7 separate regions of the Homo sapiens genome follow, and regions 1, 2, 3, 4, 5 and 7 are each linked to region 6. Evidence: promoter capture Hi-C in 16 types of primary human blood cells and fetal thymus (Javierre and others, 2016). All regions are on one chromosome and are shown on one strand. Each heading gives the region's core, a stretch centred on a gene start or on the middle of the fragment in contact. The rest is flanking DNA. Distances are from core to core; before and after follow the strand shown. Region 1 overlaps SLC25A12 (solute carrier family 25 member 12). Region 2 has its middle 70 kb from the start of CYBRD1. Region 3 has its middle 18 kb from the start of DYNC1I2. Region 4 overlaps SLC25A12 (solute carrier family 25 member 12). Region 5 has its middle 40 kb from the start of CYBRD1. Region 6 holds the start of ITGA6-AS1 (ITGA6 and PDK1 antisense RNA 1). Region 7 overlaps DYNC1I2 (dynein cytoplasmic 1 intermediate chain 2).

What was found. Contacts are between HindIII fragments. The CHiCAGO score rates a contact against its expected background, and 5 or more counts as called.
Region 1: a contact is called between a fragment that was not itself captured here and the fragment with the promoter of ITGA6-AS1 in region 6, in 2 of 17 cell types (activated CD4 T cells and naive CD4 T cells). The highest score is 7.0, in activated CD4 T cells.
Region 2: a contact is called between a fragment that was not itself captured here and the fragment with the promoter of ITGA6-AS1 in region 6, in 4 of 17 cell types (total B cells, naive B cells, neutrophils and 1 more). The highest score is 12.2, in total B cells.
Region 3: a contact is called between a fragment that was not itself captured here and the fragment with the promoter of ITGA6-AS1 in region 6, in 2 of 17 cell types (total B cells and erythroblasts). The highest score is 9.1, in total B cells.
Region 4: a contact is called between a fragment that was not itself captured here and the fragment with the promoter of ITGA6-AS1 in region 6, in 1 of 17 cell types (activated CD4 T cells). The highest score is 5.0, in activated CD4 T cells.
Region 5: a contact is called between a fragment that was not itself captured here and the fragment with the promoter of ITGA6-AS1 in region 6, in 1 of 17 cell types (total B cells). The highest score is 6.0, in total B cells.
Region 7: a contact is called between a fragment that was not itself captured here and the fragment with the promoter of ITGA6-AS1 in region 6, in 11 of 17 cell types (total CD4 T cells, fetal thymus, naive B cells and 8 more). The highest score is 11.2, in total CD4 T cells.

The regions. Positions count from the first base shown.
Region 1 is chr2:171,796,749-171,800,498 of GRCh38, reverse strand. All of the region lies in intron 13 of SLC25A12 (solute carrier family 25 member 12), which reads left to right. Among named protein-coding and RNA genes, the nearest start is that of SLC25A12, 96 kb to the left of the region's middle. RefSeq lists an enhancer at 1,810-2,340. The HindIII fragment of the contact is 1,734 bases long and covers 1,058-2,791 here.
Region 2 is chr2:171,590,233-171,593,972 of GRCh38, reverse strand. No RefSeq gene overlaps it. Among named protein-coding and RNA genes, the nearest start is that of CYBRD1, 70 kb to the right of the region's middle. The HindIII fragment of the contact is 7,737 bases long and covers 1-3,740 here.
Region 3 is chr2:171,667,927-171,671,565 of GRCh38, reverse strand. No RefSeq gene overlaps it. Among named protein-coding and RNA genes, the nearest start is that of DYNC1I2, 18 kb to the left of the region's middle. The HindIII fragment of the contact is 942 bases long and covers 1,808-2,749 here.
Region 4 is chr2:171,822,266-171,826,068 of GRCh38, reverse strand. All of the region lies in intron 9 of SLC25A12 (solute carrier family 25 member 12), which reads left to right. Among named protein-coding and RNA genes, the nearest start is that of SLC25A12, 70 kb to the left of the region's middle. The HindIII fragment of the contact is 858 bases long and covers 867-1,724 here.
Region 5 is chr2:171,560,057-171,563,995 of GRCh38, reverse strand. No RefSeq gene overlaps it. Among named protein-coding and RNA genes, the nearest start is that of CYBRD1, 40 kb to the right of the region's middle. The HindIII fragment of the contact is 933 bases long and covers 1,205-2,137 here.
Region 6 is chr2:172,463,460-172,467,293 of GRCh38, reverse strand. ITGA6-AS1 (ITGA6 and PDK1 antisense RNA 1) reads left to right here and starts at 1,272. Exons shown (of 2, transcript NR_157573.1): 1 at 1,272-1,470; 2 at 2,720-3,032. ITGA6 (integrin subunit alpha 6) reads right to left here. Exons shown (of 26, transcript NM_000210.4): 2 at 1,631-1,755. PDK1-AS1 (PDK1 and ITGA6 antisense RNA 1) reads left to right here. Exons shown (of 4, transcript NR_199657.1): 4 at 2,720-3,028. RefSeq lists an enhancer at 862-1,031. The HindIII fragment of the contact is 13,641 bases long and covers 1-3,834 here.
Region 7 is chr2:171,719,132-171,722,755 of GRCh38, reverse strand. The region is part of intron 7 of DYNC1I2 (dynein cytoplasmic 1 intermediate chain 2); the gene reads right to left. Among named protein-coding and RNA genes, the nearest start is that of DYNC1I2, 33 kb to the right of the region's middle. The HindIII fragment of the contact is 2,937 bases long and covers 1-2,854 here.

The DNA.
Region 1 (3,750 bases), core at 675-3,174, 670 kb after region 6:
CATCTTCACTAATGTTTGATATCTGTAGTGTTTTTGATAGTAATCATTGTAGGTATGTGAAATAGTATCTTATTGTGGTTTAAATTTGCATTCTTCTGATTCCTAAAGATGTTGATTATCTTTTCATGTGTTTATTGGCTATTCGTATATGTGTGTGTGTGTGTGTGTGTGTGTGAAGTATCTGTTCAAGTCTTTTGCGTACATTTTATTAGGTTTCATATTTTTTACTAATTGTAAAAGTTGTTTATACATCATGGATACAGCCCTTTGTCAAACAGATGTGTTGTGGATATTTTTTTGCCAGTTTGTGACTTGTTTATTACTTTTATTAATGATGTTTATAGTAGTTTTTAAAGAAAAAGTAATTATGTAGTTTTTTGGATAGATCCAGAAACTTAAGGGAGAATAAATTTAAATATCTTTTCAAATTAACAAAGCAGAATATTAAAAAATCTAAATGGACTAACCTTTAGGTACTTTCTAATGGTCTCTTTGGTAAGTACCTGTTCTTTTTTAATTGTTAAACTCGAATCAGAGATTAGTGATAAACTTACCTAGCTGACTGCATTACCTCTTTCAGAGAGTATATACTCCTGAGTGGATGGAAGTCATGAAACTCAAAACTTATTACTCAGCAAAGTGCTAATGTTGCAGGTGAATTTTCACAACCCTATGCGAACACACTTTCTGGAGAACACGTTCTTTCCCTTTGTGTCTTGCTTTCAGTCTGCATAGTGCTCTCAAATGAGTTAGTAGTGCACAAGACCTCGGTGAGGCAGAGAGCATGGTTGTGGGAATGGAATGGTTATGCCGAATGCAAAATCTATGACGATCTAGGTCAGTAGTCTTCCAAACCTAGAATCTTTCAACTCTCCCATGCTTTTTCTCAGCTTAAGCATGTGTCTACACACACCACATACACACACCCTCCCTTCATATCGGTAAAGCAAAAAGCCCACATGTTAGGCGGAGCATTTACTAATCCTGGGGGCCAAGATCTGTAACTAGCCAGCTCCTTATGATGAAGAATTCTATGTCTTCCTCAGCAAGCCAAGCTTGTATATCTCTAAAGAGTAGTTTGGAAACAGCTCTTCCACCTCTCATCCCCAGGAATTAGTGTAGTCCAACTTTATGCCTACATACTTATGTGAACACATATAGATATGCATACAAGTTGAAAATCCTTATATATTTATGTCAAAAGTGGCTTATGATAGGTACACAGGGATTTTCATTCTTGCTGTCTTAGTTCATTTTGGCTGCTATTAAAAAATACCTTCGATGGAGTAATTTATAAACAACAGAAATTTATTGCTCACAATTCTGGAGGCTGGAAGTTCAAGATCAAGGTACCAGCAGATTCAGTGTCTGGTGAGGGAGGGCTTGCTCTCTGCTTCCAAGATGGCACCTTGCTGCTGTGTGCTTGCATGTACCTTGCTGCTGTGTGCTTGCATGTACCTTGCTGCTGTGTGCTTGCATGGTAGGAGAGACAAGGCAGCTCCCTTCAACCTCATTTATAAGGGCACTAATCCCATTCACTAGGGCAGAACCATCATGACTTAATCACCTCCCAAAAGGCCCTACTTCTTAATACTATAATGTTGGATATTAGTTCCAACATATGCATTGTGGGGAAACACCAATATTCGGATCATAGCACTTCCCTTACCCTAGTTAGGAGTATATGTAGTGTTAATTTGTAACACCCTCGCATATATCATCACTCAGCAATGAGCACATTGCATTTATTTCTTTTAAACTATCACTATCCTATTTTAGAAAGAACCATAGCATTTCCTATTGCTTTACAAAAATATGAACGGTTGGTGGTGTGCAAGGCTGAGTCACTGTCTGTTCCTGTTCCTCTTGAGTCAGTCCTAGTGACAGCTAGTTCTGTGACTTTTACTGTTTATCTGGTTATTTTATACGCACATACTGTGTTCATCTGGAGTTGATGTGACCTTAAATAAATTGAAGTTAGATTTTCATCAGTCTCGATAAGGGAAGACTTTATAATGAGTTGCTTAGATTGGATATTTTGTGGTTGGAGGGAAATCATTTCAATCTATAGGAGACAACAGATCAAAGAAGGAAATAAACAAAGGACTTGGCACAAGCAGGGCCCAGCCTCCAACCTCTTTGTGAACCTTGCCCCAGGGGTAGGATTGAGAGGGCAGAAGGTTGAATAGGCCTAATCCTGTATACAGCCCCTCGGCCTTTGGCACTGTGGAGGCATGGTGACATCTCAAAATTACATCCTTTTCCCCGCTAACTTTTGCTGTCAGCTTTAGTTGATTTTCTCATTAAAAAATTCATATGATATAAGATTAAATGGAAGTTTTTTATTCTTTCCATTTCTGTTATATATGGGTAACCCTCATTCAAAATGAGATTTGTTCTCTTTTATGTATCTTTTAAACTCAGTTCTAGAACAAAGAAATGACAACAGAATACTGAAAAATAGAAAGCATCTAAGTCTGTTTTAGTATTAATGTTTGTATCTCTTTTAAAAAATAGGCGGGAAATTTAAGCAATTAGAGAATTAGAAGCTAATTTTGGTGATTTCATGAGTGAAAAAAATTCAGCAAAGGTATGATATAGAGTGGTATGTTATCTAATGTAAGCATTAGTAACAGAAGCAGCAAGATGCCAAATTTAGCAATGTCCATTTACATTTATATAGCTGTGTATCATTGTGATTTAATTTAAAATTTTATATATCTTAGTGTCGATTATTTCAGGTCACTAGCTATATTTGATTAGGTTTTTTGATGTTCATATATAATAAGCTTTTTAAAAAACCTTGGGTCCACAGTAACTAACGCCAACCAGTTTAAAAAATATATTTGCCAAATTACCAAATTTACCATGAAGAAGAATATGCGAGAGAAGACTTAGTCTATAAAGAAGCCATTGTTTCTAAGACCAGGTCTGTTTCTTGTTGTTGTTGCGTAGTTAATACATTCATATGTTTTGAAATTTAAAAGGTACAATAGAGTATGCTATGAAAATTATTTCTCCCAGCTATTCAGTTTCTCTTTCCAGGAGGCAATCAATGTTTTAATCTTTAAGCCACTTGGGTTTTGAGAAACTTAGGTAAATTTTGACATATTTATGATCAAATGTGTGCCTAATATTTTATGTTCTGTTTTTGTCATTTGGCGTGATTTTATTATCAAATCATATTGCCCAATTAATAGCATAGAATTGTATCTACTTAGCTGTTTTATTGGGAATTTGAATTTCTTCCTGTTCAATTTTGCTGCTATTAAAAATAGCAAACATTAGCATATTTGTAGAAATACAGGTACTATTTTTTATTGAAAAGTTACTGTATTTATGAAATTCTCTATATTAAAGATTATATTTACTGCAAGCAGTGCTTTTCCCCTTTGGAAAGCTGTTATTAATGATATCATTTATAATCAATAGAGTCTTAGAAGAAATATGGTATTTCTCTGTATTTGTTTCGCAGAGAGGAAACACCCAGTTCAAGAGTTTGATAACATCATAGTCCCTCATTCTGAGTTGCTTGATTTATTACCAGTATAATTGAACTAATCTCAGATTTTACTCCCCCTTCCCTATCCCCAGTTTAATATGTAGGATAGAGAGAGTGGTCAACCTCAGAATCCGAAAAAGAACAGTGCATATTTGCCATGTGTGTTTCCCTTTAAGCATTATAAACATCCAGAGTTTTAGACAAATTATTACGTTGGTACAAAAGTAACTGCGGTTTTTGCAGTCTTT
Region 2 (3,740 bases), core at 309-2,808, 870 kb after region 6:
TTAGCATTCTCCAAGTATTCTTTCCCATTTATAATTTTCATTTCGGTCTAGAGATGATTGGTAAGTTTTTCTACATCTCTGTCTCTCGGGCACCCCCCACACTTCTGTTCAACCCTTTTGAACATACCTAGAGTAATATTTCTGGGATTCTGGCTTCACGTGATGTTTTCTAGTCCATCCTCTTGGCTTTCACAGGCCTCGTGTTTTTGTCTATCCTCCCCCGCAGGTGCCACCGAAGACAGTCAGATAGGCTGTCATGGCAAACACCAGCTTTAGAGAGGTTAAGTCTCTGGATTTTTACTTTCTTTTTTGTTTGTTTGTTTTGAGATGGAGTCTCGCTCTGTCGCCCAGGCTGGAGTGCAGTGGCACAATCTCGGCTTACTGCAACCTCCACCTCCCAGGTTCAAGCAATCCTCCTGCCTCAGCCTCCCAAGTAGCTGGGACTACAGGCGTGTGGCACCACGCCCAGCTAATTTTTTGTATTTTTAGTAGAGACGGGGTTTCGCCATGTTGGCCAGGATAGTCTTGATCTCTTGACCTCGTGATCTGCCCACCTCGGCCTCCCAAAGTGCTGGGATTACAAGCGTGAGCCACCGAGCCTGGCCTGGATTTTTACCTTCTTATTATCTATGGCAAGGATCTTCCTTTTTTCCCCCCAAGAGTTCAGACAAGTATTTTCTAGAAAGTTTAAAAATATATTTTATCCAGAATTTTAGTTCCATACCAGAAGACTTTTTCCGGACATCTAGTCTTTCAAACAACCAAAAATGGAAGTCATCATTTTTATAATATAAACACTGTTTTTTTCTACACTTTCCAAGTGGAAGATTTATTTTGGTTTTAAGGGCTTTCTTATTTTTAATATCAGTATTTAAATTATAAATTTCCCTCTGACTACCACTTTACCCTGTATTAATGATCAAGATAAAATTTTATTACTAGGTACAATGCAATATAATACTCTTTATTCTTGTTTCATTAATCTTCACAAAACCCAATGAGATGTATATGATTATTCTTCACTTTATCAATGAGGAAATTGAAGTGAAGGAAAATTAAATAATTTCCCCTAGGATCCTGGAGACAGTAGCATGCAGGGAAGCTGGGATTCCAACCAGGGTCTGGCTGAGTTCAAAATGGGGTCTTGCAACTCGTTCAATGGTTTTATGAGAAAAGAAAAACAGGATATTTAAGGTGAGAGTAAAAAGGAAAAACTGACATTAGATTTTAGGGTGTTCGTGTCAAAGTTACCTCACGGTTGGAAGTAAGGGAGAGAAAAGGATGCAGGTTATTATGGGGATGATAGCTGTCCAACCCAAGCCCAGAGAATATGGGGCAACCTGAGAATGTGTGGCAAAGCAGGAACAGGTGTGCACAGACACCTTCTGCGTTCATCCTGGGTAGACACAGTGGCAGAAACTCACCTTTCCCTGCCTAGTTCAAATTATTAACTGTGCTTTCTTGGCAATATCAATTTACCAAAAAAAAAAAAAAAACAAACAATGATTTTTAATCCGATGGCCATATGTGCAACGTATAGAACATCACTAATGAACACATATTTTTTAGCCCCAAATAAAATAGTCTTTGCTAATCCCAGACCTTGGCTCCAAGCCAGCTAGCTTCTTGCTTTCATTATTTGCAACAGAATCCAGAATTCAGAGTGAATAAAAGAGCCGAACAGGAATATAACTCCCGATAATATTGTCTCTGTGCCTTATGCACTTATCCTTTTTGTCTCTCCCCAGGGGAAAAGCAGTTATTCTTACTTATGCTAAATCCAGTTGTTCCCCACCGAGGTCATGTAAATCCTGGCACCGAGTATGCAGCAGAGTAAAGTCAAGGCAGTGGGAGGTGCTCACACAAGAGCAACAGGCGGCCCCAAAGCCCCAAACTGTTCCATCCATTTTCTCCTAAAAATAAAGGGTTCTATTCATAAAAAAACTTCATATATTCTTGTGATTTTTCTTACCAAAAAAAAGCCAACATGATATGCAGGCAAAGAATAACAACTCCTGGTTCACAAACCACGCCATCCTTTCATTTCCCAGAGTAAGCAAATAAACCAGGGAGAGGACATGCAGGAGAGTTAACTGTATTCAGCAGATAAAAAAACATCTTCTGCAAAAAGGGATCGGACCTCCAATTAGACCCCTAAGTGGTTCCATTTAAGGGAAACTGCCTCCTTTCTGCACATCCACTTAACAAAATGAATTACCCAAAGGCTAAATGTGAGAGATTTTATAACTTTATTTTAATGGGATTTCTAAATATCATAGATTTCATTTCTTTCCAGCAAAGAAGAATTGGTTACTTAGATTTTCCGAAGACTTAAAGATTATTTAGACCTTATTCTTCTATTCTCTCTCCTATTTTCAGTCTTTAAAAACTATCTTTCCATTGTAAATCCAAATTATTGTATGCTTTAGAATGCTTCCTCTACTGGGGATAACCTGCCCTTAAACTCTAGTAATCCCAGGCCCAACCTGACCCACCTGCCCTTGGCATCCCCAGTAGTTAAAGGATCAATATCTTGGGTTCACCTGTAATCCATATTTTGCATACCAGTATGCCTTGGCTCATCTGCTGGGAAGGTCTGTGCTAGGATTTATACTCAGGTGTGTTAATTATTGTATTAGTCCATTCTTATGCTGCTATGAAGAACTGCCCAAGATTGGGTAATTTATAAACGAAAAAAGATTTAATTGACTCACAACTCCTTATGGCTGGTGAGGCCTCAGGAAACTTATCATCATGGCAGAAGGGAAAGCAAACACATCCTTCTTCACATGGTGGCAGGAGAGAGAAGTGTGGAGAGAAGGGGAGAAAAGCCCCTCATAAAACCATCAGATCTCTTGAAAACTCACTATCATTAGAACAGCATGGTGAGCCATCCCAATAATCTAATCACCTCCTACCAGGTCCCACCCCCAACACATGAGGATTACAATTCAGATTACAATTCGAGATGAGATTTTGGTTGGGGACACAGCCAAACCTTATCAATTATCTATTGCAGCATAAGCAATTACCCCAAAATTCAGCAGATTAAAACAATATACATTCATTATCTTACAGTTTCTGTGGGTGAAGAATCTGGACATGGCTTGGCTGGGTCTTCTGGGGCTCTCACAAGGCTGCTATGAGCAGCAGGTGCTGCTATCATCCTCTGTTGAAGAATCCACTTCCAAGCTCACTCACATGAATGCTGGCAAGGCCAGTTCCTCCTTGGCTATTGAGCTGCAGGCTTCCTTTCCTCATTGGTGAGGATGCTCAATTCCTTGCCATGACAGTCTCTCCAGAGGGCAGTTTGCTTCAACAATGTGCTTCTCTAAAGTTATCAGGAAGAACAGAGAGAGAGAGAGTTAGGAGAAGGCAGTCTTCTGAAACCTAATCTCAGAAGTGCCATCTTATCACTTTTGCTGTATTCTACTCATTAGACACAAGTCATTAGGTGCAGCTCATATTTAAGGGAGGGAGTTACATGTGGGCATGAATACTAGAAGGTGCAGATGCCTGCAGACCAACTTAGAAGTCCGCTTACCAAACTAGGAGATAAATTGCTGAGTGGTAGGGGTAATACACATGTTTAACCTTGCTAGATAGTTCCAGATTACTATCTAGCAGACTATAAGAGTTGCCATTATTATGAGTTCTCACCAACACTTGCTATTGTCAGTCTTTTTAATTTTTGCCAAGCTGTAGGGTATAAAATGGTTAATGAGGTTGAGCATATTTTC
Region 3 (3,639 bases), core at 1,029-3,528, 800 kb after region 6:
AAACATTATCTTACAATTTTGTAGTTCAGATGTCTAAAATGAGTCTCAGTAGGCCAAAACCAAGGTGTTGACAGGGCTGTGTTTCTTCCTGAGGCTGCCAGAGAAAGTCTGTTTTCTTACCTTTCCCAGATTTTACAGACTGTCCGTGTTCCTTCTATCTTCAAAGTCAGCAATGGCCAGCGTCTTTTTCACATTGCATCGCTCTGACGCTCTGACTTCCGCCTCCCACTCCCATATTTAGGGACCCTTGTGATTTCATTGACTGCACTAGTCATCATCATCAGCAGCAGCAGCAGCATCTTACATGCTGTAAGCTTCATATATGTCTCATATTTTTCTCTGTATTTCTCATAGCAACAAGAACAGTTCTAACTATGTGTTTTTGGTTGTTTCTTAAGCTAATGGAATAAGAGTTCTTAAAGGGCAGTCTGAAAAGCTCTGGTGATCTTTGACTTTCAGGTAGTATGCAAGTTGCATTAAAATTCCAAACAGAAAAATATGTAGCTTAAAAAACCCAAAAGAACATTTTTTAATATTATTACAAATTTGTAATATGTAAAAAAAGGAAATTTTAATGACATTGCTCAACAAAATAAGGGAGTACTCCAAGGAAGAAGACATGGGACCTGGAAAGAATTGTCTAGGCCAGGGCAGAAGGGAGTTCTTAGCATACAGCAGGTCTGGACACAAGCCAGATATGAGCCTGAGAATGCAGTGGAGACATGGCTAAAATGATTATAATGAAACTGCTAGACTACTTGGTATGTTCAAATGTACTGGAGGGATATTTATATGTCTTTCAGAGAGTTTAATGATGACTCATAGCAAATTAATCAAATAAAAATATGAGGAAATTATTATACCATAAAGAAAATGTATTTATAGTATACTATGTAGCTTAGCTCTGAATAATATTAACAAAATGATAATAATGTAAACATTGAATATTGGTTGAATGAAAATTATGCCAAAACTACATAAGAGGATGAAAAGAGAAAGAAGATGTACCAGGGGGTGAGGGATGTGGGGGCTGTATCTGGGTAAGAATCAAATTCTCATCTACCATAGTAGGAAGTCAGAAAAAAAAATCAAAATACTAGAAGAAACAGCTAAAAGTACAGATATTATTAGTGGGGAGGTTCAGGACAGGACCTTTCTATTGCTATTTGACTGTGTAAATGATATATGTGTGTTATTTTGGCAAAAATTACAATTAAGACAAAAATTTACCCGTATTTATTTTGAAAATAAAAAAGCAGGGATTATTTACAAAGGCAAAATCCCTGCAAGTGTTGTTTCTTTTCTTTCTTTCTTTTTTCTGCTTCTGGCAAGTAGTAGTTTCCAGAAACTTTTATTCTAACCCAAAGTGATTTTATTGTTGTTGTTCTTTGGTTCCAGAAGTTGAAAGACTTCAGTATGACTTAGCCAATTAATAAACACGACTAGCTGCAATGAGACAGGCCAGGTAAGGTCCTCGGACAGTGCCTGTACAAAATGATCAGGAAAAACTGTACTAGAAGTGGCCAGGTGTTTAGGAAGAATATTACCAGAGATAAAGATAATATTGAAAAGGAAACATTCTTGCTTATATTTCTGTCAAACTGAACTATTCCAAGTTTCCAAAATGTGTTGTATTTTCTTAGCTACCGATTCTTCATACGTACTTTATGAGGCAACTGTAATTAGTCCTGCCGCTCCTGGTATTACCTTTTTACCATACCTGTAGGAGGCTTTCCATACTTGATGGAGTTTTTAATAATTAACAGAATGACATATCTAGAGGAGATAATTTAGTTCAAATTAAGCTTGGGTAGAGCCTCTTACCTCTTTCCTGCTATCTTAGTTTTCCCTCTCCCTACCTTCCAGTCTAACTGTGATGAGCACATGGTCAGCCAATGACTTAAGGGACAGGGAGACAAGACACTTAAAATCAAAACTGTTTCAGGAATTCCAGCAAATATGGCTCTCAATTGTGTAGATTTCTTTTAACGTACCAAGGTTTGGGGCAAGATGATAAATTCACAGGTTATTTTTCTTCTATTTGTTTTCCCGGTTAAGAGGCCCCATTACTCATTACACATTTTCCCATGAAGTTGCACAGTTGGATTAGCTGATTCCAGAAAAAGGTGTCTGGATGCAGAAGGAGCTGCAGCAACCAGCCCCAAAAAGCCAGTCAAAGAATGGCTGGCTATTGATACAACCCGAGGCAAAGCAACTGTTTCTTCCCATGACTAAACAATGAGGATGACTCTGTTCTATTGCAGTGTATTCATTCAGACAATATTTATTGAGTATCCTAGTGCCTGGCACTGTTCTAGCTACTGGGGACACAGCTGCGAATACAGTGACACAATTCTGCCTAATTGTATCCTTTTCAGATTCAACCATGAAAATGAAGAAGAGTACAGTTGAATTTTTCACCCCCTAATCAAAGTCCAATCCAGATTTTGCCAATTCTTACTTGGCAGTATTTAACCAAAAGTTTCATAGGAATGAGGCTTTCTTATGAATTTGCAGTGTTCCCAGATTCTGATCCTTCAGGAAAAACAAACTTTATTTCTGCAGTACTTTGTCCTCTTCTGTGTGTTCCACTACCATGCCACCTCTCAGATAAAGAACTAAATTCCATGAAAAGCCACAACTACCTTGTAGTAGAAATCAGTCCCTAATGATATTACACTTGCACAAATTGAAATGGGGTTAAAAGCTCACATTGTGGAATCTTAGATTTCTTGCTAAGCTGGAAGCTTTTATGGGGCTCACTTTAAATTGAGAGGCAGAGTTTAGACCCTTTTGTTACTTAAGAGATTGAGCAAATTAGCAAGTCCAAGGCAAATCTTTTTAGATTACTGAACTATTACAAATGTCTCCTGGCCAAAGAATAACCTCTCTCCACAGAGAAATGTTCAGCAGGACCTTTTGCTTAAATTCGTAAAATCTGTTAAAGCAAATCTCTCACATTTCCATTAAGTCAGTAAATTACTTCTAGGGGAAAAAGATAAAATGCTGATGATAAAATGGCTGGACTATATTAATGATGGGAGGTGGGGCTGGAGAGGCGGAAGAATTGATGCCACATTTATGGTGCAGAGAATTTCAGCCTTTTTCACGTGTTGGGCTAAATGTAAATGATGTCACCTTCTCCTCCCTGAGTGAGAGGCAAAGTTATCAGGCCGCAGAGGCTTCACAGAACGCATTCTGTGGCTGACATTAAAATGACTACAAGGTTATTTCTTTCCATATCTATTCTCTTGGAATTTTTTCAAGATTTTATTGTAGATGGGAAAAATGCATAATGCTTACAGAAACAAAGCCCTAGCTACATTCTTGCTACTGGATTATTGTCATTCTATCTCGATGCTGATTGAAATCCAAGACTTTGTATCGAAGCCTTAATGAGATGCTGGCAAATATCTTTCTGCCCCACTGGAAATGTAATCTTTCTATTGAACATTTTGTACCAGTGAATTTCATCTGCAATAGCATTTTGCATTTGAATCAGAGAGGTCACTGCTTGAGAGCAGACCATGTGGTACTGGCTTAGTTCACTTTTGGGTGAAATTGATCCCTAAAGGTGTTGAAAGTATAGTAGTGAGTCATTATAGATAATTAGCTCATTGTTTCATTTAGATGATTAGA
Region 4 (3,803 bases), core at 46-2,545, 640 kb after region 6:
ACAGATTACAGCCAGGAAAAAAAAAGTAATTAGTGAAACCAGAAAGAAAACCCTGACTGTTAATTACATTTTTGATAAATATTACTTTTGGTTTTTATAAATGTTAAGAATGATTAAAACAGTAGCTTCTGAGTCCTATAAAATTAATACAATCCCATTTCTGATTTTACAAATACTATCTTGGTAAGAAAAAGAAAATCCATGAAATTACCTTGAAGAGTGGAATGGAACAGTTTTTAATAAATCTCGTTTTAAGTTGAAACTTCCACTTCTATAGCACTTAGGAAGTTTCAGTGGTAGCAGATGATCACATTGCTTTTGTGTGTGGGTAAGGGTTAGGAGGGCCAGTCATTGTCCTCCTGGTACTTTCCTGCTCTAATAGACATGGAACCTGTGTTCCTCATAATTCTCTAGGAGAGTGTGATGCCATACTAGGCAAGGCGACGTGGGGAGGGCATGGATAAAGAAGACAGGATACAGAGAGAGAGAGAGAGAGAGACAGTTACTAAATGTGCATGCTATAGAAAGAGGCTATGTCTGCTCTTTCTTCATTGCTGCCACATTGGTGAGTAGCCAGGGTTGGCTTGCTGTTATTGTTCACCTTCACCAAATGTGTTAATGAAACATCAAGATATGTTTAAGTGTAGTTCGCTTTGGGAAGACTTGGTTAGGAAACCTTTCTTCTACTTGAGCTCCATGGAATGATGATTCTGCCTGTGAAACTAATTAGAATTTACAGTTCTACTTTACATAAGGAACAAGAACATTTTGTAGTCAGGTTGAAGTAAATTGAAAATGGAAAAGAAACCATTATATCTGCATTTTGTATTAATACTTTAACTGTTTGCTTGATGTGTAATAAAGCTTCCTACAGATTAAAATATGTTGTAACTCATTGCAATTTAGCTTCTTTTGTATCAGAAAAACTCTTTTATCTGCTGCCATCAAAGTTTATTTCCAGGCTGGGTACAGTGGCTTATGCCTGTAATGCCAGCAATTTGGGAGCCTGAGGCAGGCAGATTGCTTGAGCCCAGAAGTTCCAGACCAGCCTGGGCAACATGGCAAAACCCCATCTCTACAAAAAAAAAATGCAAAAAATTAGCCAGGCGTGATGGCGTGTGCCTGTAGTCCTAGCTACTTGGGAGGCTGAGGAGGGAGAATCACCTGAGCCCAGGAAGTTGAGGTTGCAGTGAGCGTGACTGTGCTACTACACTCCAGCTTGGGCAACAGAGTGAGACTCTGTCTTAAAAAAAAAAAGAAAAAAGTTTATTTCCATTAGGAGGTCTCAGATCCTTTAAAAATAGATGGATTTATTTCAATTCAGTGATTTTAAAAAAATAAAATTTTATAAAATTATGTTTAATAAAAGGAAAGAATGTGAAAAATTTTTAATAAAATTAAGAGACATTGAAATATTTAAAGAGCTCTTACTGAATTTAATTTTATTTTTTGTAGCCTATACATCTGTGAAAATTTGCTCTTGAATTTTGAAAAATTGCATTTCAAAAGAAGATATTTTGCAGTGTTGCATGTGTCTATTGATATAGCTCTCCCTGGAGGTTTCCTTAATATTTGTAATTGGGGAATATTTCATTTAGCTTATTAAAAACATTGAATTTAAAAGTCTCAACTCATTTCTCCTCCTCAGTTTTTCTGCTGCTTACTTTTCTATTCACCCACCTCTCTTGCCCCTAGCAATTTTCCTAGAGGCCATATCTGAAGCTTGTTTTGCAATCTTTGGCACCCTGAGTCTGCATCCTTCACATTTCTTCATCCTTAGGAAAGTGATGTAATTTTGCTACTGCTGTGAATTCTTTTTAAGACAGATTCAAGATGATTTGCCTGTCTTCAGTGGCAGCGCTGATGCTTTTATGCTGGGATGGGTGGCCTCAAGGGTCTTTTCAGATATTTAGGAAATGGGCAGTGATAAAAACCACCATTTTCTTCTTCCCTGGGTCTCTGATTGGTATCCAGAGTGATGGGGAGTGCTTTCTCTGCCTTTCCTTAACCAGTGAGATAGTACAGGGATCTAGAATTTCTGGAGAGCTGGTAGAAGTCTTAGGTATTCTTACATTGTCCCCAAAGGAAGAACCTCAGAGTCTCAGGACAATTTTTTTTTTTTTTTGTGGAGACAGGGTCTCACTCTGTCAGCCAGGCACAATCACTGTTCACTGCAGTCCTGACCTCCCCGGCTCAGGTGATCCTTCCACCTCAGCCTCCTGAATAGCTGGGACTGTAGGCATACACCACCATGCTCAGCTAATTTGTTTTCAGTAGAGACAGGGTTAAGCCATGTTTCCCAGGCTGGTCTCAAACTCCTAAGCTTACATTAATCCACTGATCTTGGCCTCCCAAAGTGCTGGGATTACAGTGTGTGTGAGCCACTGCACTCAGCTAAAATGTTTGATGTTTCCTCTCACATAGAAGATAGTCTTTCTACTGAGGATTAGGTACAGAGAAATAAAAATTAAGGTCTTAAGTGTATATTTTCCTGTACATTATTATAGGAACAAAATCTGAGAAAATAGAACTCAACAGAAATAATAAATAATTATTAGAATTTTATAGAAACAGATTTGTGAAGGTTAAGGATTCAGATTAATGTCCACTAATGGCCATTGTGAAATCTGATCTTTACTGTCCTTGAGATTTGATACAAGTTTATTTGGGACTCAGTTTTCCCTTTAATAAAGTGAGTATCTTCATGTATTTCTGAGAAGCCTTCAAGCTCCTGCATTCTGTAGAATGGTATGTATCAATGGATTTTATTTTCAGAATTCTAAATTTATCCTCCTTTTTCCTTTGTAACATTTAAAATTTTATAAGGAATACAGGCTGGACTCAAGTAGAATAATATGAAAATATGCTTAAGTTCTTATAGCAACCAAAGTAATGGAATAAACTTTCTTCAATTTTCAGCCTTGAAAAAACATTCCTCAGTTAACATATTTCAGGTTTATGAGGCATTGTAAGGCAGCCATATAGACTACAATCCTAGTGACTCAGTTTTTAACATTCTTTAGTTCACAGAATTTCAGTAATGCTAACCTTAACTATTCCCATGTTACTTCCAGAAGATATCTTGATTTGATTCTCTTGTAATTTTTCCTATATTGCCAAATTAGAAGTACATAATTACTTACATTTATTATGCAGAGTATTCCCTTATATGAATCTATTAGAAACCTAAATATAAAATAGGAAGAAGGATATATGTCTTGTTATCTCACCTTATGAAAGTTGTTATGAAAACACTTGTTTATGATGGAGAATCTGTGAGTCCAGAACTAGAAGTTATGAGGGAGAGAGTAGTTAAGAGCCTGGCCACTGATTATGTAACATCCTCTCATTCTGTTTCCTCATTTATTAAATAGGGACAGTATGCCAGGCACAGTGGCTTGTGCCTGTAATTCCAGCACTTTGAGAGGCCAAGGCGGGCAGGTTGTTTTGAGCCCAGGAGTTTGAGACCAGCCTGGGCAATATGATGAAACCCTGTCTCTAAAAAAACATACAAAAAATTAGCCAGGCATGGTAGTATGCACCTGTAGTCTCAGCTATTTGGGAGACAGAGGTGGGAGGATTGCTTGAGCCCAGGAATTTGAGGCTGCAGTCAGCTGTGATCACACTACTGCACTCCAGCCTGAGTGACAGAGTGAGACCCTGTCTCAAATAAATAAATAAATAGGGATAGCAGTATGCATCTTTATAGGATTGTTATGGGAATTACATGAGTAATAATACACTTACATTAAGCCTGACACCTGCTAAGCATGCAATAAATGTTAACTGCTATTATTGTGCTT
Region 5 (3,939 bases), core at 422-2,921, 900 kb after region 6:
AATTAACTATTTGGTATATTATGCCTCCAGTTATTTGAAAGTGTATGCACATTCACATTTACAAACTCTTTTATATTCAATTTCTTTCACTTAATATTTTATGAACATATTTTCATATTGCTAATTATTCACTTGAACAATATAATTTTTGATGACATAGTTTTTGTATAGTGTAACTTTGTATTTGGCCATTCTTTATTAGACATTGTTTCCAAATACAAGAAATCTTTAAGATGATTTGCCACACAGATACAATCACTACAGTGGTGATTCTCAGTCTCTACTTGCACTCCATTCGCAATCCAGTGCTCTGTTAAATGAGACAGAGACAGAGAGAGAGAGAGAGAGAGTGAGAGGTTGAGAGAGAGAGAATGGAGGAAGGCTAGGCAAGGAGAGGCCTGAATCCTAATCATCACTCCACACTTTTCCACACCCTTGAGTTTTATTTGCACTTTTGCTTGCTCTTGGGGTGAATTAGCTCACACTTAAGGCTGTCACTGCTCCTCTTGCCTCACACCCTTTTACTTCCTTCATTTGAGTGTTCCAGGTGAGTTCACTGGGCCAGAACCTCCTACAATCTGCTCAAGACCTAGAGGTTTGAATGGGGAATGTGAGCGCTGATAGAGACAGGGAGCCAGGTCGTGGGTTGGGGAGGGCAAGGATGCTTCCTGCCCTCCTCCTTCATCACTAGTGGCTACTCTAGGGCCTGCCTGTGTGTGCCAGGGCTGAGCTAGGGCCTGGCCCCCTGGAGTTCTACAGAGTCCCTCTGGTACCTGAGCCACAAGAGAGGCACCTGTTCAGGAAATCTCATCAGAATCTAAACTTTAAGAGGAATCTCAGAACTTATCCATTTCAACATTCACCCAATGCTTATATTTCTCTTTTTCACCTTCATTCCACAAGAGAGAAATTTGTGACATGTCTCAGTCTAGCCTTAATGTGATAAGATTCATATAAATAGATATGAGAATATAGAAAACATTTATTTGGACTAGACTTCAGACTAAATTTCTGCCATAACATTCACCAAACTAAGGGATTGCTTATGTACAGTTCTGACCCTGAGGCTGACAACCAGATATTCTTCCCGTTGAAACAGAAAAACTCATACTATTCCACTCAGCCTAGAAATTTCCTAGTTATGTACCAGTAGATATTATACCAACCAGATTGCCAACTGTATTTGAAAGTCAATCAGAAAGCTTCTCCTTCCAAAATTCTCACCCTAATAGAACACTCACCAGCCAAATCCTGCATGAGCCGTCTTCCTTTCACTCTATAAACCTCACTCGCCTATCACGCCCCTTGAGTGGCTACCAGAAGGAAAGTGATCATAGCTAACTCACTCTAGTCAGATCTGAAAAAACAGGTTTCAGATAATTCTATAGACATTGTCTTTTTGACAAAACAAAAATGTATTCTTATGGATTGGTGATATAAATGAGCACTGCCCTGTGGGCTACCTCTGACATGAACAAAGGTCGGCAGACATGTGCTCCTGGACCGCTCCCGTATCGAGCATCCTCACCCACCCAAATTGGCCTGTCCTTAGAATGGCTGGCCTTACGGGTTGTGCCTCTGTAGTGAGTGAGGGGAACCCTTTTCAGTTTGTGCTCCCCACTCCTCTATTCTAGCTCCCTGAAGCCTGCATCCTATGAAGATGTATTCTCTTGGTTCCAAGACAGTTCTTCATACAGCCGATAATCATGGAAGAAAGTCCACATTCCTTTAAGAAGAGATGTGGACCCGGGGAATAAATGGTAAGGAGTTGTTTGAAATGCTTGTTCCCAGGTGCTGTAAAGAAATAGTACTTGAACATAAATTTAATTTATTTAGTAAGGCCATTTTTACTTCCTGCAGAAAGAGTACACTCACCAGAAGTTTTGCCCTTGGTGAGAAATGTATCCAGCCTATACCGGCTTATCCTCATTCCAAAACACTAAAGCAACTAACAGGGTTCCTTGGCATAACAGGCTTCTGCCGAATATGGATTCCCAGGTACGGCGAAATAGCCAGGTCATTATATACACTAATTAAGAAAACTCAGAAAGCCAATACCCATTTAGTAAGATGGACACCTGAAGCAGAAGTGGTTTTCCAGGCCCTAAAGGCCCTAACCAAGCCCCAGTGTTAAGCTTGCCAACAGGGCAAGACTTTTCCTTATATGCAACAGAAAAAAACAGGAATAGCTCTAGGAGTCCTTACACAGGTCCGAGGGACCAGCTTGCAACCCATGGCATACTTGAGTAAGGAAACTGATGCAGTGACAACGGGTTGGCCTCATTTTTTACTGGTAGTGGCAGCAGTAGCAGTCTTAGTATCTGAAGCAGTTAAAATGATACAGGGAAGAGATCTCACTGTGTGGAGACTTGTGGCTGTCAGACAACCATTTGCTTAAACATCAGGCTCTATTACTTGAGGGACCAGTGCTGCGACTGCACACTTGTGCAACTCTTAATCCAGCCACATTTCTTCCAGGCAATGAAGAAAAAAATAGAACATAACTGTCAACAAGTAATTGCTCAAACCTTCACCACTCGAGGGGACCTTCTAGAGATTCCCTTGACTGATCCTGGCCTCAACTTGTATACTGATGGAAGTTCCTTTGTAGAAAAAGGACTTCGAAAAGCGGGGTATGCAGTGGTCAGTGATAATGGAATACTTGAAAGTAATCCCCTCACTCCAGGAACTAGCGCTCAGCTGGCAGAACTAATAGCCCTCACTTGGGCACCAGAATTAGAAGAAGGAAAAAGGGTAAAAAGGAAAAAGGGTAAATATATATACAGACTCTAAGTATGCTTACCTAGTCCTCCATGCCCACACAGCAATATGGAGAGAAAGGGAATTCCTAACTTCCGAGGGAACACCTATCAAACATCAGGAAGCCATTAGGAGATTATTATTAGCTGTACAGAAACCTAAAGAGGTGGCAGTCTTACACTGTCGGGGTCATCGGAAGGGAACTGCCAAGTGGATATTGAAGCCAAAAGAGCCACAAGGTGGGACCCTCCATTAGAAATGCTTGTAGAAGGACCCCTAGTGTGGGGTAATCCCCTCTGTACTCAGCAGGAGAAATAGAATGGGGAACCTCACGGGGACATAGTTTCCTCCCCTCAGGATGGCTAGCCACCAAAGAAGGGAAAATACTTTTGCCTGCAGCTAACCAATGGAAATTACTTAAAACCCTTCACCAAACCTTTCACTTAGCCATTGATAGCACCCATCAGATGGCCAAATCATTATTTATGGGACCAGGCCTTTTCAAAACTATCAAGCAGATAGTCAGGGCCTGTGAAGTGTGCCAAAGAAATAATCTCCTGCACTGCAGGCCATACATTTCAATCCCTGTATCTTTAACCTCCTTGTTAAGTTTGTCTCTTCCAGAATCGAAGCTGTAAAACTACAAATCGTTCTTCAAATGGAGCCCCAGAAGCAGTCCATGACTAAGATCTACCGTGGACCCCTGGACCGGCCTGCTAGCCCATGCTCTGATGTTAATGACATCGAAGGCACGCCTCCCGAGGAAATCTCAATTGCACGACCCCTACTACGTCCCAATTCAGCAGGAAGCAGTTAGAGCGGTCTTTGGCCAACCTCCCCAACAGCACTTGGGTTTTCCTGTTGAGAGGTGGTACTAAGAGATAGGACTAGCTGGATTTCCTAGGCTGACTAAGAATCCCTAAGCCTAGCTGGGAAGGTGACTGCATCCACCTTTAAGCACGGGGCTTGCAACTTAGCTCACACCAGACCAGTCAGGTAGTAAAGAGAGCTCACTAAAATGCTAATTAGGCTAAAACAGGAGGTAAAGAAATAGCCAATCATCTATCACGTGAGAGCACAGGGGAAGGGACAATGATTGGGACATAAACCCAGGCATTCGAGCCGGCAACGGCAACCCCCTTTGGGTCCCCTCCCATTTTATGGAAGCTCTGTTTTCAC
Region 6 (3,834 bases), core at 23-2,522:
TTCAAACATTTGAAACATAAAGTACTTAGCTCTATATAGTTGCCTATTTTGTCCAACAATACCCTTTGCCCTCTCTTGATACCTAGGGTCCTGAATGCAGAAGGTAAGTGAAACTGTAAGACTAAGGGAGCCCTCCAAAATACATCTCTTAAGGCAACAATGTAAAATCTAGTATTCCAAACTGCAGCTACCATCCAAACTAACAAAAAAAATGGGTACTTCTCTATATACTCCCCAATTTTTTTATTTAACAGCATTAAATGTTCTCTTCTTTACTGGAGATGGAAGAAAAAGACTCAGATTTACTTTAGGATCTTGTAGCTGACAATGTATCAATGCCAAACAGGAGAGTTACTGTTAGTCAGAGAGACGGGGACCACAAACACCACCAGGTGCTCATTTCAGTATCAATTTAAACCCACTGTGTGACCTATATCCAAATTTTGCACTCCTCCATAAGTAGCAATACAGACACAGGTTTTAATCTTGAATCATTACAAAAACATTAAACAACTTTAGACAGAAGGAAAAATGCCAAAATGTTAAAAAATAAGTCTAGATACTGAGATTGCCAGTGGGTTTTTTTATTCTTCATAGGTCTGTGTATTTTACCAGCTTCTTAAAATTAACACATATTAGTTTCTAATAAAAGAACACATGTTATTTCTTTTCTTGAGATGGTATCTTGCTCTGTCACCCAGGCTGGAGTGTAGTGGCACGATTTTGGCTCACTGCAGCCTCTGCCTCCCAGGTTCAAACAATTCTCACGCCTCAGCCTCCTAAGTAGCTAGGACTACAGGCGTACACCACCACGCCTGGCTAATTTTTGTATTTTTAGTAGAGATGGGGTTTCACCATGTTGGCCAGGCTGGTCTTGAACTCCTGACCTCAAATGATCCACCCAACTCGGCCTCCCAAAATGCTAGGATTACAGGTGTGAGCCACCGACGCCTGGCCAACAAATGTTATTTCTAAAAGATGAAGAAGCAAGAGAAGAACATAGACACGAATCTGCAAATCTACTTAGACCGAACATATCAAACGAGGTTTGGCTAGAGCTTCTCAGTACACTAATTGCTCTGCTCAACCTACAAGAAGCCAGGTACACTGGATGTCAACATGCCTACCTCATGGTATCTTCTACCTATCCAGAGCCCTTAACAAAACAAGTCTCTATCTGAGACAGGAGGGAAAACTTTATCTCTGTTAGCCAGCTCTCATTCCAAAGGGGTCTGATATTTAAAACTGTCTTTCTCCCAAATATTTTAACAGCATGTGAGAACTTTTGGCTGATGAATACAAGATACGCTCATTCATTCTCTTCATTGCTATGAAATGAGTTTTTCCACAACCTCCTGCAGAACCTCAACACATCACTAGGTGGCAACATCCCTACACCATATCGGTTTAGAAACCACGGTTAGGAGGAGCAGCAAAACACGCGGCATCCCAGTATGATTCAGAAGTAAAGTAAGTAAATATTTTCAGGGCAAATAAAAAACAGTCAAGTCTGATGCAATTAAAAGAAGTCCTCTCTACAAGAATAAATGTTTGTCCCCACTCTCCTCCCTCATGGAAACAGTACAGGCAAGCTGCCGGAGTGAACGCTGAGTGAGGGAAAGGAACGCACCATCGTTATCAAACTCGATCCGCGTGCATGGCCCCCGGGCGGTGATGTCGCAGCTGTACAGCCCTCCCGTTCTGTTGGCTCTCTGCAGTGGAAGCGCTTCTGCCCGCGGGGCCCCCACGAGCAACCTGTTGATGAAACAGAGACAATTTGGAGATTTGAATTTAATATACGTTTAACAGTTAAATCAGTCAGAACTAGGAGATAGTGGGATTATTCTTTGTCTAGGAGTCCACTAATTCTTCAACAGCTTAGGCAGTGAGTGAGAACAAATGTAGAGTCCTATGGCTGGTTCATGCAAAACGCACAAACACAACTAAACAGGGGAAGCCAAAGAGGGGATACCAAAACGAGGAAAATAGGCCTGTCTCTCATAGTATCAGCATTTCTTGCTGGGTATGATCTGGTGTTTAAAAGACACCCTCTTCAAAGAATACAACCTCTAAGCCCCTATGATGCCAGGGATATCATATGAAACTCAAGAGAAGAAACCAAATACTTGTGACAATGGAAGGAAAAAATGGCCACACTAAATGTAATAAGCAATAATATGTCAGTTTCTAACACTGTGCCTTCCTGAGGTAGTTTTCAAGGGTAATTCTGACTATATCTTAGATTTTCAGTTTATATACTAATTGAGAGAACCTAATGGTAAGTAAGATACAACTCGACTGAATTATTCACTTGCAGCCTTGGCCTCTTTCCAATTCTTTTTTTTTTTTCCCTCCAGTTTTATTAGGGTAGAATGGACAAATAAAAAGCAGATATATTTGAGGTGTACAAGTTGATGTTTGTTCTTCCAAGTCAGTTCTTACTTCCTTGCACTTTTGTCACATTACAAGAGTTCGTCCTCTCTCATCCTATCAGTCTCCCACAAAGGATTCAGGGACAACTGGTGTAGCTCCACTTATGTACTAGGCACTGTAATATTCCTTCTTCTCCCCAGCCGAGTGTTTTTATCTCCTATAAGGAGGCCCCCAGTCCAAATCCACAGTCCTTAAAATTTCACCATCTCACAGCTTGACAGGCTCTTTAGAGATCCAATGACCTTGTTGCTAGGTCTCTTTTGCTAACACCTTTACTCACCATCAGGTTTACAATCTTTGAGGCCTGGCTGACTCATGGAACAACTAGGACAAGAAACAAAGACAAAGAACACACACCTGACTGGACAGAGATAAACCAAGAGCTGAGAGTTTTGGAAACAAGGCTGGAGCTGAGGAAAAGGACTGGGAACACGAACCTGTACAAACAACAAATTCTTACAACAGAAAACAAGCCACTCCTGGCCATCAAGAAACCCACAAATCTCAGAAGCAAAAGCAAAACAAATGAAAATACAAACCAAATAGTCTCTATTACCTTCATGCCTGTTGGGTCCCAATAAAGGAATCATTCCAATAAAGGATTCAACATATTTTTTTTAAACCAATATCATGCAGCAGGTGCCACCGGAGGCAAGTGTACCTGGAAAGCAGGGAGGGGGGCCAGATGATGCCCAGACAGAGAAGGAGGGGTGGCTCATGGATAACACATAGCCCCAGCACTGTCCTTCCTCCCAGATCCCTGGACAGTCACAGTCAGCCCCCACCTCCAAACCCACCCTACATTTGAAGGAACAAAACAGCACACACCAAGGTACAGAACTGACACACAGACTTTTAAATTAGGAACTGGAGCAGTGTCCTTGGTGCCTGAACCTTCTTGACAGAGGACAGAGGCAAGGCCGGGGCCACAAGGGTCCCCACAGGTCTGCTCCACTCCTATTCCAGTGATGTCCCCGATCCCAGGAATGCCAACAAACAAGTACCTGGGAGGTGAACTGCCTAGACTATAAGGTGAATGTGTTAAATTACTGTACTTGGCAGATGTCAGAGGTGGAGTCATGTGGAGGGTGCTGGAAGGGATAAGTGGGGTGCCAGGATCAGAGGCCCAGAACCCCAGGACTTTCACACTGGAAGCCCCTGAGAGAGACCAGTCCTCCAGTTTTACAGATAAAGAAACAGAGGCCTTGAGGAGCTTAATTACTCATCCCCCAAGATCTCACAGCTAGTGGGTGGCCATGACAAAAATTATCTTGGTGCAATGTTGTCTCCATTTCTTTACAAAGCTGCTTAGGAAGTAAAACCCAGGATTTCAAGTTTACAACCTAGTTGAAAGGGCAAAACTTACACAAATAAAACATCACAACCAAAACTGTTCTGTAT
Region 7 (3,624 bases), core at 137-2,636, 740 kb after region 6:
TGCTATAAGGTTGATCTTAAATAATTATCAAATTTACCAAATATTTGGCAAAAATGCCTAACATCAATAACATCAGATTAAAAAATGTTCTTCTGAAACAAATATGCTTTTCTTGTTATAAGCTAATATGATAGCTACCAAAGGACTATTAACGTGGCCAAAAATATAAAATTACAGTTCTGAAGATTTTCTAAGCTAGTCCTTATTACATGATAAGCTATATTTAAAACTGGAAAAGACTGTAACAGAGCAGGAAGACTGAAAAATGGGGCTGCCATGTCACATCAATTTATTGATGAATATTCATTACAATATGCTAAAGTGGTTAACTCCACGCTTTCTCTGACAAGGAATCTAAGGTTATAAACTGAGCAGTAAAGAGTGCATAAAAGTAGCAGTTACTTTTAAAATGACAAATCTCTTGTCAATGAATGCTAAAACTAGGTTTAATGAACCACTGAATTTTTACTTTGAGTTAACATCAAAATTGTGATGTATTTTGGTGAGACAGAAAGAAAAGCTGTTTTGTAAATTAAGCTGCACCTACAAGTAACACGAAAGAATGAAATTCCAGTTGTTGGAATAATCTCTTACAATGGAGTAAGTTAATCAAAGTTAAATCATCTGTGAAATGGGTGGCTTTTGTTAAACTGAAGGAAGGAGACTTCAGAGCAAGTTTTCTCATCTGTACCTCACAGTACATTTAAGATACATTTTACATTTAAGATACATTTAAGATAAGCTAAGAGTATGCCACAAAGCATACTCTGAATTATTTTAAAATATTACAAGACATTTAAAAGGTAATATACAGTATCTTAGAAAATCCTTACTGAACAAACATTGCTACTTATGAATCTATCACTTTTAATGATTAAATCTCAATATGAAGTGAAAAACAAATCCCATCATTAGTGCACTGTTGTTTAGGAAATATGTTTGTTGTCTATCAATTTACTATGTAGTTTTATTGTACTGGTGCATCCCATTTTAAGATAACTTAATATCCTATGAAAAATCCCTAACTTACAAGGTAGTCTGGTTATTCCTGGTATAAAGGAAGCTGACACTGAGTTCTAAAAGTCAGGACATTTGCTGCATATAAAAATATGATTTGACTTATAAAAATTCAACTTATGAATAACTTCACAAACAGCTATGAAAATATTAGAGGAAAATGCTTTAATCATTAGTTTAAAAATACAGATTACATAGGAATGATTTTCCTTTAATATTTTCAAAAAATCCCTTCTTTTCTGGGTCAGCTTCATTTTGAATCACTCTATTTCAATCCATTTGTCCATCACTTCATCTTCTTATACCTTACTCTTTAAAATCAGATGCATATTAAAGAGAATCTTCATTGGGACAAAGTTTCATGAATCTATCAATGGAATCCATTCCCTTTCTTTTTTTACACCATCTAGAATAAGATGCAAGGTCACTTGGGTTTCTTTGGCTCTTCAACAAGGGAAAAATACACAGCTGACTTTTTAATCATTAATGATTTCAATACAGATGTAATGCTAACTTGGGGGGAAAATAAGAAAAGACTAATAGTTTAATTATACCACTTCCTTTAACACAAAATTTGTCTCTCTGTAGTTCTTTTTTTTTTTTTTTTTTTTTTTTTTAAGAGATGGGGTCTTGCTATGTGCCTAGGCTGGCCTCAAACTCCTGGGCTCTAGTGATCCTCCTGTCTCAGCCTCCTGAGTACCTGGGACTACAGGTGCACACCACCTTGACCAGTCACAGTCCTTTTTATATAAAATTTGGGTTTTATTTTCGCAGTATTAGCACCCTTACATAGGTCTTGTTATCTGTGATTTCATCAAATATTATATTTTTCTGAGGCCAGGGTTTCAGATATGCTGATTAGTCTTTCAATCAAGATTAAGAACAAATGCTTCAATTTTCAATTTTGTTTATATTCTTATAGGTCCTCTGAGGGTTAAAACTAATTTATTAAATGTGTTATTCATTCCAAAATCTTTTAAAAATCCATTTTATTTAATTAATTTATTTGAGACATAGTCTCACTCTGTCGCCCTGGCTTGAGTGCAATGGCACAATCGTGGCTCAATGCAACCTCTGCCTCCTGGGTTCAAGCAATTCTGCCTCAGCCTCCCAAGTAGTTGGGATTACAAGTATGTGACAACACACCTGGCTAATTTTTGTATTTTCAGTACAGATGGGGTTTCACCATGTTGGCCAAGCTGGTCTCAAACTTCTGACCTCTGGTGATCTGCCCCACCTCGGCCTCCCAAAGTGCTAGGATTACAGAAAAATCCATTTTAGATAAGGTAGATGTATTAACCAGAAGGCATACAAATTTGGTCTTCTGGGAGTGAATTCCAAATGTTAAGATCATGCAATAAGTGATTACAAGATAATCACATATATTAATATTCTACACACAATAAAGCTAATCAACAGGTATTGAAGAAAACATATCTGGCTACTAAGCCAATACCAACAGTAATTATAAACTCCTTCACAGATAAGAAAGTGGAATGGAATAAGAAAAATGGTACTTCACTAGAAATCAAGTGCCAGTTTCTGGATGTATGCCCGATATTCTCTCAGACGGTGGACTTAGACTCACCAAGTAATCTCCTTGAACCTCAGTTTCCTCAGAGTAAACAAGCTGATTAGATTAGGTAACCTTCAGGATTTCTTTTTCCTTTAATAATCTTTCAAAAAATAGCCAAAAAAAAAAAAAAATCCATACAGAAGAAGTGAATAAGAAAAAATAATGCCATTTTTTCAAAAGAGTTAAAACTTTTAAAAAGGTAAAGAAAGTAACTTTTCCAGGAGTGTATCTGTGGGCACCACATTCTTGCCAAGAGAAGCTTTTCACCTGCTGAGAAGAAAATCGACTGAAGTCACGTGGTGCTAGTCAATTTCATTCACAGTAGGCGCTTTAAGACAGCAAAGCACCACAGTTCAGAAACAGTACTACCAACTTACAGAGTAAACTGGAAAGCAAGAAGGTGGCCAGAAGAGTGAAAAAGAAAAAACAAGGCAGAATAAAAACTGCTTTTTTAAAGGAATAGGCTTGGCCATTTTTATTTAAAAAAAGAATACAAAAGAAAGGTAAGAGTTAAGTCTACGACCAATTTTTACCTTCAATTTGGTAAGTCACGGATTTCTGTAGGCATGGATTTTACTGCCTACAGAAGTTTAATTTGCTGTCTGTTACACTCCAACTGTGATTTCACCAATTTTGTTTCATGGTGAGTTCTGGAATTCATTACATAATTCTTAAATGGGAACCAACCAGGCAAAGTTTGAGAACCACTGTATTAACGTGATGGGTAAGCACAAGAACAGTTAAGCGCACAGTGTTTCCATTATAAAACCTTAATTTCAAGGTTTTTCTCTTTCCTTCTTTCTAAAACTTATACACTTTGGGAAAAGAAACTTAATGTAAGAGCTCCAGACATGAAAATAACTGTAATGATATAGAAAACAAATTATCTCATTTTTTCCCCCAAAGGATACTGCCCAAATATCTCATTTTTATAAATATTTCCAAAGGGTTAAGGATAGCTCCATGGTATCAGGATGCTTTTTTTTCCCTTCTCCTTCACTTATATACCTCAACCTGTAACTAAAAGGACA